Regions from separate parts of the Homo sapiens genome. Here region 2 is linked to region 1. The links are contacts of gene promoters, found by promoter capture Hi-C in blood cells and fetal thymus (Javierre and others, 2016). All regions are on one chromosome and are shown on one strand. The core of a region is centred on a gene start or on the middle of the fragment in contact, and the rest is flanking DNA. Distances in the headings are between cores, read along the strand shown.

The links. Contacts are between HindIII fragments. The CHiCAGO score rates a contact against its expected background, and 5 or more counts as called.
Region 2: a contact is called between a fragment that was not itself captured here and the fragment with the promoter of CEBPZ in region 1, in 1 of 17 cell types (monocytes). The highest score is 5.2, in monocytes.

Annotation. Positions count from the first base shown.
Region 1 is chr2:37,228,230-37,233,936 of GRCh38, reverse strand. It overlaps CEBPZ (CCAAT enhancer binding protein zeta), which reads left to right and starts at 2,341. Exons shown (of 16, transcript NM_005760.3): 1 at 2,341-2,525; 2 at 4,901-5,707. The coding sequence starts at 2,370. NDUFAF7 (NADH:ubiquinone oxidoreductase complex assembly factor 7) reads right to left here and starts at 2,279. Exons shown (of 10, transcript NM_144736.5): 1 at 2,177-2,279; 2 at 1,671-1,831. The coding sequence starts at 2,231. RefSeq lists enhancers at 2,390-2,839, 1,797-2,996. The HindIII fragment of the contact is 13,102 bases long and covers 1-5,041 here.
Region 2 is chr2:38,356,086-38,361,792 of GRCh38, reverse strand. The region is part of intron 1 of ATL2 (atlastin GTPase 2); the gene reads left to right. Among named protein-coding and RNA genes, the nearest start is that of ATL2, 18 kb to the left of the region's middle. The HindIII fragment of the contact is 3,037 bases long and covers 763-3,799 here.

The sequences.
Region 1 (5,707 bases), core at 1,092-3,591:
TACTAGTTGCTGCGTATGTTCATAATTGAAGAAATGCTAAATTTCAGTTGAAAGTTAGTGAAAATAAAGGTATAATATTTTTTCCATCCAGCTTCATGAAACCCCTGATTTCTATTAAAGGGTCCCTAGGTTAAGAGCCTCTACATTTTAGAGTTACCCCTACTCTCAATGCTGGGAAACCTTCCTTTCTCTCAGTATGTTCTCCCTGGTTCCTTGGCTTTAAATATGACCTATATGCTGATGACGAGCAAATGTATATATGCCTGCCCAGTCTTTCTTCTGAACACCAGGCTCACTTTTTTTTTTTTTTTTTTTGAGACAGAGTCTCGCTCTGTTGCCCAGGCTGGAGTGCAATGGCGAAATCTAGGCTCACTGCAACCTCTGCGTCCCGGGTTCAAGCGATTCTCCTGCCTCCTGACTAGCTGGGATTACAGGCACAAGCCACCACGCCCGGCTAATTTTTGTATTTTTAATAGAGACGGGGTTTCACCAAGTTGGTCAGGCTGGTCTCAAACTCCTGACCTCGTGATCCACCCGCCTTGGCCTCCCAAAGTGCTGGGATTACAGGCGTGAGCCGCCACGTCCGGCCCTGAACGCCAGACTCTTACAGCGAATTGCCTACTTTCTATCTCCACCTGCATGTCACTGCTAACAAAATATGTATAAAATGCAGCTCCTGGTGTAGGCCCTCTCCCTAGTACTCCTCCAAACCTGGTCCTGTCTGTCTTAATCTCAATAAAAGGTACCATCATCACCCAACTGCTCAAGCTAAAAGTACGAATCAGCCTTGATTCCTCCGTTCCATCACTCAATCCATCGGCAAATCCTGTCAGTCCCTTTCTAAATCACCCTCTTCTATTTCTAGTACCACCACACTAGTCTAAGCCACCTATCTTGCAGCCCTGCCTAACCGGCATCGAAAGAAAGATACCGGCCTTGGGTAAACCTCGACACTAGAGTCACACTACCATATCCAACAACAATGGCCAATCTAACCCCAGAATTCCACAGAGGTCATATTTCAACCCAGCAAAAGATGAAATATTCTAAAATAAAGGACTATAGGCTTTCACCAAATGGCTCTGTAGAACAGACAAGGAAACGTGGGTCAGAAAGCTGTGACTGTGCCTAATCCTAGAACAGTGAAGACGACCCAGACTGCATTCTCAACTGCACATGTGAGAAAACCCAGCACATGTCTCCAATGCCAGCTGAAGCCATTCCAACACAGACGACTTTCCAGGCAGTAATTCCTATTTCCAGCTGCCTGTTGGAGATTTCTACCTAAGAGTCCCACACACTTCAAATTCATATACCAGCCTGAACTCTCCATCCTTCCTCCCGTATTCCTTCTCCCAAAGCAATGAATCCACACCACCCACCATCAGCCAAGTAGGAAAGTCATCCTTCCCGCATCATAAATCCAATCAGCTACATTCTGTCTCCTAAACACCCTTGGACCGTGTCCTCTCCTCTTTACTGGCACTGCCTCTGACGTGAGCCAGCCCTGACCAACTGACAAATTATCTGTCCCCAGGTCCTCAGAAATGGCTCTTCCCCTGGCAGGCACCCCCACTGCCTGGGCTGAGAACCTTCGGGCTTCTCCCTCCTGGCTTGCACCTCGCAAATCGGCTAGAGAGGGCCTAGTCCTCGGGCTACCCGACCCATACCTTGGCTGGATTAGTCAACACCTCCTTCATGTACTCGGCCACAGTGATGGGACCAGTAGACTTTATTTTGTACATAAGATGCCGCAGCATCGGCGTCACCGGGTTTTCTGCAGGCTCATTCCCGGAGCTGAAGTATTTCCCTCTCCAAATAAAAGGAATGGCTGCGAAAAACACAAATTAAACAGACCCCATGATAAATCTGACCATTCACGAGCGCAAGCCGCCTGAGCGTTTTCAAAACAGCTTCGTGAACCCTTAACCTCGCCCCACCGCAGACCGCGGGCTACTGTGCTTAGCACGCCCACGGGGCGCAGAGACAGCACCCACTTGCCCACGACTACGCAGCCCTATTGCGTTTGTACCGGACCCGTTTCCAGCCCAGGGTACCTTCAAGGTGGAAGTGAGCCCCCGAGCCCTTGATCCCCCGGTACCCTCAACTGAAGAGCTGAGGAAGGCGCCCCACGCGGCTTCCACGGCAACCGGGCTTCGAGGGGACTGACGCTTACCTGCGCGCGCCACGGCACACAACGGCCCCAAACCTGACCTCAGCAGTACACTCATGCTGAAATTCGCAGGCTAGCTCGCTCCGCCAGGAGCTGGGGCTTAGACCATTTCCGGGAGAAGACACGCCCCGACAGGAATTACGCCACTGGCAGAGCGGAAATAGGCTGAGTTTCACGCGCGTATGCTTTGCCCGCCATGGCCGCAGTCAAGGAGCCTTTGGAGTTCCATGCCAAGCGGCCTTGGCGCCCCGAGGAGGCAGTAGAAGATCCGGACGAGGAGGATGAGGATAATACTAGTGAAGCCGAGAATGGGTTCTCCCTGGAGGAAGTGTTACGGCTCGGAGGCACCAAGGTAACGGCCGCGGGCTCCGGGGAACGGGATCAGGCGTGGAGAGTTCCGAAGGTGGCTAGGCTGACTGCCCCGCCGCTTCCGCGCTGCGTAGAGCGCGGGCGTCCAGGACCGAGATCCCAGCCTCTGAAGCATGTGTTCGGTGCGCTTCCCACGCCGGTTTCCACTGCTGTTTACAAAAGAAAAGTTTCGAATTGAACGTTGTATTCTCTGGCTATTCTTAGGATGTAGGCGATCTTCTGATTTTATTGACGTGGTATAACCATCACACCATCAGGTCGGAGAGTGGCTTTTCTTGGTCCTGACCTTGTGGTATGAGTGTTTTGAACACCAGTGGTATTGGAATTTTCATTTCTGTTCTCATAGAGTACATGCACGTGTCACTGTATGCCCCAGAAGCCCTCTTTTTTGGAGCATCCTAATTAAGGGAGAGAAACAGTAAACAAACTTTTAAACACATAGTACAGCAGACGCGGGGTAGTGCTATAAAAGAAAATAAAACAAGGAAGGACGATAAGGAGTGGGAGCGCGTTAGTATTAAATGAGATGATCGACAAACACATCACGGAAATGTTTGAGCAGAATCCTAAAGGACAGGAAGGAGTGAGCTGCCATTCCAGTCAGTTGGAACAGCAAATGCAAAGACAGGCAGAAGAGTGCCTAACCTATTCCATGAGCAGCCAAAATGCCAGTGTAGCAGAGGCAGAGTGAGTTAAGGGGAGAATAGTAAGAAAGGAGGGCCGAGGGGTCAGAGGGCAGGCTTTTGCTCTGAGTTTGATGCAAAACCACTGGAAGATTTTAAGCAGATAAGGAACAGAAATTAACTTTGTTTTTAATATTATTTTGTTTGGAGACTGGACTTTCAAGGTGGAGGAGTTAGTTAGAGATAGGCAGATTCACAGTTTGCTCTGTGCTTGTGTATATTTAAGTTTTGAATAGGTAATATATACACATGAAACACGTGGTGCAAACTTTAAAAGATACATAGTGAAGTCAAATTGTTTCCACTTTTATCTCAGCCATAACCATTGCCCTGATAGGAAGCAATTATTTTTACAACTGCATTTTATATCTTTCAGGGATACTATATACCTTTTCAAGCATATACATACTCATTTATGTGTATGAAATACGGGTGTATCTTTTTTACATAAATGGTACCATATATATACACCTATCTCTACATTTTGCTTTCTTTTCTGTCTTAGAAATCCTTCTATATCAGTGCATAACGTTCTGTGTCATTGCTATGGCTGCATAAATCATTTTGTCTGTCTTAATTTATCTAACCAGCCATTTATTGTGAATATTTAAATTATTGCCAGTCTTTCACTATTTTAAATAATACTACAGTTAATAACCTTAATCGTGTTTTTCCCCCACTTTTGTAAGTGTATATGTAGTATAAATTTGTAGAAATGAGCCAGGCACAGTGGCTCACACCCATAATCCCAGCACTTTGGGAGTCAGAGGTGGGAGGATACCTTGAGTCCAGGAGTTTGAGACCAGCCTGGGCAACATAAGGAGACCTCATCTCAAAAAAAAATTTTTTTTTTAAATAGCTGGGCGTGTAGTGCCAGCTACAGGCTGAGGTTGGAGGATCACTTCAGCCTGGGAGGTTGAGGCTGCAGTTCAGCCATGGTCATGCCACTGTACTCAAGCCTGGACAACAGAGCGAGACCATGTCTCAATCAGTTAGTTAATTTTTAGAAATGAAGCTGCTGGGCCAACAGATGTGTGCCTTGTATTAAATAGTTGTGATTGGAGTTGACAAATTGTCCTCCATGGAGGTTGTGTCAGTTTACACTCACATCAACCATGTATGAAAGTGCCGTTTCCGCCACCCCTTCCCCAGCATCACCTGTCATTGTATCTTGCTCATCTTGCAGTGTATCTTTGCTCATCTGATAAATTAAAAGATGGATGTATCATTGTGGTTTTAATGTGGATTTGTCTAAACCTCAGTGAGGTTGAACATCTTTTCATATTCTTAAAGAACCCTTTTTTTCTATGAACTGTTCATGTCCTTTGCACATTTTTCTTTTGGGTTGTCACTTACTGATGTGTAGAAACTTATATTAAGGGATTAAACCCAATTACTTTGATAGGAATTGCTTGTATTTTTTTTCCAGTTTATAATTTATATTTTTTTCCTATATCGAAATAAAAAGTGTGTGTGCGTGTGTGTGTGTGTAAAAGAAAGAGAGAGAAAGAGAAATTTACTTATCCTTTCCTTTGTGGACCCTGAGTTTTATGTCAAATTTGAAAGGATTTTTCCAGTTCCGAAATTATTTTTAAAATTATGTTGTGTTTCCTATTATTTTATGGTTTTATTTTTCACATTTGTAATGTATTTTTAACTTATGTTTTTAATGCAGCAAGATTACCTTATGCTGGCTACTTTGGATGAGAATGAGGAAGTGATAGATGGAGGCAAAAAAGGAGCAATCGATGACCTTCAGCAAGGTGAATTGGAAGCATTTATTCAAAATCTTAATTTGGCGAAGTATACAAAAGCTTCCTTAGTTGAAGAAGATGAACCAGCTGAAAAAGAAAATTCCAGCAAAAAAGAAGTAAAAATACCTAAAATAAATAATAAAAATACAGCAGAAAGTCAAAGGACATCAGTTAATAAGGTGAAAAATAAGAATAGGCCAGAACCACATTCTGATGAGAATGGCAGTACCACACCGAAAGTAAAGAAAGATAAACAGAACATCTTTGAATTTTTTGAGAGACAGACTTTGTTACTTAGGCCTGGAGGCAAATGGTATGATCTGGAGTACAGCAATGAATATTCTTTGAAACCCCAGCCTCAGGATGTTGTATCTAAGTACAAAACCCTTGCTCAGAAGCTGTATCAGCATGAAATCAACTTATTCAAAAGTAAGACGAATAGTCAAAAGGGAGCCTCTTCTACCTGGATGAAGGCAATTGTGTCATCGGGGACACTAGGTGACAGGATGGCAGCCATGATTCTTCTTATTCAGGATGATGCCGTTCACACACTTCAGTTTGTAGAAACTCTTGTGAACCTTGTTAAAAAGAAGGGCAGCAAACAGCAGTGCCTTATGGCCTTGGATACTTTCAAAGAGTTGCTTATCACAGACCTTTTGCCAGACAATCGGAAGCTGAGGATTTTCAGCCAGCGTCCTTTTGACAAACTGGAACAGTTGTCCAGTGGC
Region 2 (5,707 bases), core at 1,032-3,531, 1.1 Mb before region 1:
AGTCATTTCAGTAAAGGTAAGTTTTCTTGCCTGTCTGTGGAAGTAAATTTTGAGGCAAATTAAAATGTTTCATTAAAAACAATTGTAATGTATTTCAAACTTACAAAAATGACAGAGAAAGATAAAATAGATACCCAAGTAGCCATTGCATTAATCTAATACATAATATTTGCCATATTGATTTTGAATCCTTTTTAAAAGAGAAAATGTTACTGTGCAGTTGAATGGTTCACCCAATAACCTTTCTCTTTTACCCTTTCTTCGTAGATATGCACCTGTCCTGAAAGTGGTGTATGCTTTCTGGTTTTTAAATAGCTTATAACATTTGTATATTTCATAAATAATATACAGTATTGTGTTGTGTTTAAAACATGGTGAGTGGTTCAGACTGTATTTTGTAGCTTGATTTAATTTAAATTTTTTTTTTTTTTTTTTTTTTGAGACGGAGTCTTGCTCTGTCACCCAGGCTGGCGTGCAGTGGCGCGATCTCGGCTCGCTGCAGGCTCCACCTCCCGGGTTCATGCCATTCTTCTGCCTCAGCCTCCCTAGTAGCTGGGACTACAGGTGTGTGCCACCACGCCTGGCTAATTTTTTGTATTTTTTAGTAGAGATGGGGTTTCACCACGTTAGCCAGGATGGTCTCGATCTCCTGACCTCGTGATCCACCTGCCTCGGCCTCCCAAAGTGCTGGGATTACAGGCATGAGCCACCGCGCCTGGCTGCTTGATTTAATTTTTTTCATTCCACGTTGGTGTGGAAGCTTATCCATATGTAAATATTTAGATCTTATGCATTAATTTCAATTCTCTGACTTATTTTTTATTTATCCATGGGTATTTAGGTTGTTCCAATTTTTTTTTTTGTAGTTACCAACAATACTTTGGTGAACAAGGAACCATGTTTCGTTCTTCTTGTATATGTATGCAGGAATTTCTCTAGGATATAAACAACTTACCTAAAAAATATTAAAGTAAGAAAGTTTCAATATTGTGTACTCTCATTCTTTAAAAATCTGGTCCACATAACAAAAGTATGTTCTCCCTCATTTCCCCCCAAAAAAGTACCTAAGAGCCCGTCTAAGACCCTTTTTTTTGGTCTTGACTTGAGGTGAGATTTTCTTCAAGACTTCTCTGTAGAAGAAAATGAAGAGACTTGCAGAACCTGAATAAAATGTCTGAATTTCTGTCTTGTTGATTATAGAGTTCCCCGAGGCTGGGTGTGGTGGCCCACTCCTGGAATCCCAGCACTTTGGGGAGGCTGAGGCAGGAGGATCCCTTTAGTCCAGGAGTTTGAGACCAGCCTGGGCAACATAGTGAGACCTGGTCTCTACAAAAACTAAATTAGTTGACTGTGGTAGTGCATGCCTGTGGTCCCAGCTACTCAGAAAGCTGAGATGGGAGGATGTCTTGAGCCTTGGGGGTCAAGGCCACAGTGAGCTGTGATTGTGCCACTGTACTGCAGCCTGGGCATCAGAGCAAGACCCCATCTCAAAACAAATAAGCAAAACACCCAAAATCTTAAAAAAAAAAAAAAGAATCCCCTGAGCCATCGCTTATTCTAGAATCTCCTGACTAGCTAACAAAGTTGACTTCCTAAATTTTAACGTCATTTAAAATACCAAATTTAAATTTACTTTAGTATTCTTTTTTTTTTTTTTTTTTTTTGAAATGGAGCCTTGCTCTGCCCAGGCTAGAGTACAGTGGACGACGATCTCATCTCACTGCAACCTCTACCTCCCAGGTTCAAGTGATTCTCGTGTCTCAGCCTCCCAAGTAGCTGGGATTACAGGCATCTGCCACCACGCCCAGCTATTTTTTTGGTATTTTTAGTAGAGACGGGGTTTCACCATATTGGCCAGGCTGGTTTTGAACTCCTGACCCCAAGTGATCCACCTGCCTCGGCCTCCCAAAGGGCTAGGATTACAGGCGTGAGCCACCGCGCCCGGCCAACTTTAGTATTTTTTTTAAGTACACTTACATATTCAGGTGTATGCTTTTAAGAACTGGGTAATATTTGATGACAAACTTTGGGGAAAAATACTTTTGAGTTTATACATTTATAAACCATTTTACATTTTTCTTCGTCTATTTTAATAAATGCATAAAAGTATTTTTTGCCTTAGTGTTCTTTAAGTGGGAACAGCAAAAATTCTGTGACATCAGTGGTAGTTACTATGGAAACGGGGTACATTTCAAGTGGAAAATAGTATGTGAATCCTATAGGAAAAACAACTCTTTGTTTCCTGATTTAATAGTAATGAAGGAAGGAGATGAATGGTATTATATACTCTTTAAAGCATTTTTTTTTTTTTTTTTGAGATGGAGTCTGGTTCTGTCACTGAGGCTGGAGTGCAATGGCGGGATCTTGTCTCACTGCAACCTCCCTCTCCCGGGCTCTGGGGTTCAAGTGATTCTTCTGCCTCAGCCTCCCAAATAGCTGGGATTACAGGCGTGTGGCACCACGCCTGGCTAATTTTTGTATTTTTAGTGGAGACAGGGTTTCACCATGTTGGCCAGGCTGGTCTGGAACGCCTGACCTCAGGTGATCCACCCACCTCGGCCTCCCAAAGTGCTAGGATTACAGGCGTGAGCCACTGCAGCTGCCCTCTTTAAAGCATTTTTAAAAGTCTATTTTAGGATGGTCTTTTGTTGTTGGCTAGAAAGGGACAAGTCTAAGGGAGAAAATATTTGATAACTGAAATTGTTAATAAGTCGTTTCCTGGAGTCTTTAAAATTTTTGTTTTTGTAATTTGCATTGTAGTTCTAATTTTATATGAGAGAAATATGAGTTTATAAGTTCTTAATGTTTTACAGGACCAGATTATAAGTTAAAATATTTTCTTGTAGTATCTGTTTGACTAGTAGCTGTTTTTTTCCTTCAAAAAAAATTTATCGAAGTCCAAGTTTGTGTCTTTGTCAGTACTTGTAATACTTGTATCCCAGGCTGCAATAGTCTTGTGGGGGAGACCCAGCACTGTTATAAAAGCTCACCCAGGTGATTGGATGAGCTAGACTAATAGTTTAATAGAGCTAAACTAGCTGATAGTTTTCAATCCTAGCCGTATATCATGTTAACGTTTTAAAATAATTTTTTTTTTTTTTCAGACGGAGTCTCGCTCTGTCGCCCAGGCTGGGGTGCAGTGGCACGGTCTCGGCTCACTGCAAGCTCCGCCTCTTGGGTCCACGCCATTCTCCGGCCTCAGCCTCCTGAGTATCTGGGACTACAGGCGCCTGCCACCGTGTCCGGCTTACTTTTTTTGTATTTTTAATAGAGACGGGGTTTCCCTGTGGTCTCGATCTCCTGACCTCGTGATCCGCCCGCCTTGGCCTCCCAAAGTGCTGGGATTACAGGTGTGAGCCACCGCGCCCAGCCATTTTAAAATAATTTCTATAGCTTTTTCCTTTTTTAAGTAGAGATTGTTTTATGTACCTCGACTTTTTTGAACTTTGGTATATCAAACCCTTGATAGCAACCCTGGAGTGGTTAGTTGTATCACAGTATTAGCAGTCTCCCAGGAAAAATAGAGCATTACAGTTTAGCTTGAAAACTTTTTTTCTTCCTTGAAAATTTTATTTTAATATTGTTAGAAACTACATGAAATAGAATTAAATGAATGACACTTACATCCTAAACACTTGTGAAATAGAGTGACCCTTGTTAGTCCATATATCCTGAGGACCAGCAATTTTGGCATCATCTTGGATTGATAATAATGCAGTTTCAAGCTCAATCCCAGTTTTATTGAATCAGGATATGCATTTTAACAAGATACTCAGGTGATGTGTATTCATGTTAAGCTTGACTAGCACTGCTGTGGAGGAAATAACACTAAATAAGACCTGGCCTTGATTTCCCCCCAAACAGTGGTTTAATTGTATGTTTTTCTTATTTTTAAAATGAGTAAATTGGGCTGCATAATCTATAAAGCCTGTGGGAGTGATGTAATAGTTTTAATTTTAAGTATTGAGGCTAATTTTTAAGCATATGTACTAGAACTTGAATGTTGTCATGTATCTTGATATATATTCTAGGGTGTATATGTATGTTCTATTAATGCCTAAAACCTTGTAGTTCTTGGAAAATGCTTTTCCTCCCCAATATAAAAAAGTATCTCTAGAGGTTTTTTTTTTTTTTTTTTTTTGAGACGGAGTCTTGCTCTGTCACGCAGGCTGGAGTGCAGTGGTGCGATCTTGGCTCACTGCAAGCTCCGCCTCCCGGGTTCAAGCGATTCTTCTGCCTCAGCCTCCTGAATAGCTGGGACTACAGGTGTGCCACCACGCCCAGCTAATTTTTGTATTTTTAGTAGAGATGAGGTTTCACCATGCTACTTCTTTTTTTTTTTTCCTTAATCCCAAATGTGATAGGAAACATTTCTGACTGAGGGTTCTGTAGGAAGTAAATCATAAGTATATTAAACAAACATATATATAGTAACTATAAACTTTTTATTTTATTTATTTATTTTTGAGACGGAGTCTTCCTCTGTTGCCAGGCTGGAGTGCAGTGGCGTGATCTTGGCTCTCTGCAACCTCTGCCTCCTGGGTTCAAGTAATTGTCCTGCCTCAGCCTCTCAAGTAGCTGGGATTACAGGCACCCACCACCATGCCCAGCTAATTTTTGTATTTTTAGTAGAGACAGGGTTTCACCATGTTGGCCAGGATGGTCTCGATCTCCTGACCTCATGATCCACCTGCCTCGGCCTCCCAAAGTGCTAGGATTACAGATGTGAGCCACCGCACCCAGCCGGCTAAACCTTTTAAATTAGATTTCCAGCATTAAATTATGTACTGTATACAAGGTACTCCAGTTTACAGCAAACACAAAGTTTTTTGAATTAAAAAACCTGTCGTAAAATACTGTTTAAACATCTGATTTAGTGTAGAATTAAAGGGACTTTAGGGTGGTAATTTAAACATTTCTTTAAAACTATCTAGATTGTGAATAGACCGTTCATACAAGAGGAAACATGTATAGAAATGGTTGTTAGTGAAAGAAATGAGTATTAAAGCAGTTTGAATGGTGTGACTGAAGAACTTAATTTTCAGTTTTATTTAATTTTATTTACATTAACAGTTTTGTTAGTATGGATACAAATATGAGTGGAAAATGATTAATATTTGATTTGGTTATACTGGAAAACTTTGTTGGAACAACTTTTATACATGTCTACTTTTTCAGTTGTAAGTTTTATGAAATTAAATGATTATGTGTTTCTGATAAGCATTTAGTGTCTAAGTTGAAATGTGCTGTAGGTGTAAAATACACAGCAGATTTAGAAGACTGTATGTAAAGTAATAATGGGCCAGGCGTGGTGGCTCATGCCTGTAATCCCAGCACTTTGGGAGGCTGAGTGAGGTGGGTGGATCACTTGAGCCCAGGAGTTCGAGACCAGCCTGGGCAACATGGTGAAACCCTATCTCTACAAAAAATTTAAAAAAAAATTAGCTGGCTCACGCTTGTAGTCCCAACTACTTGGGAGGCTGAGGGAGGAGAATTGCTTGAGCCGAGATCGCACCATTGCACTCCAGCCTGGTCGATGAGAGTGAAACCCTGTCTCAAAAAAAAGAAAAAAGAAAGAAAAGTAAAAAATACTGAGTAGGTTGAAATGCTAATATTTTGGGTTAGTAAATAAAAATATTATTTAAATGATTTTTTTTAAATGTGACTTAGAAAACTTAAAATTACATATGTGGCTAATTTTTCTTGT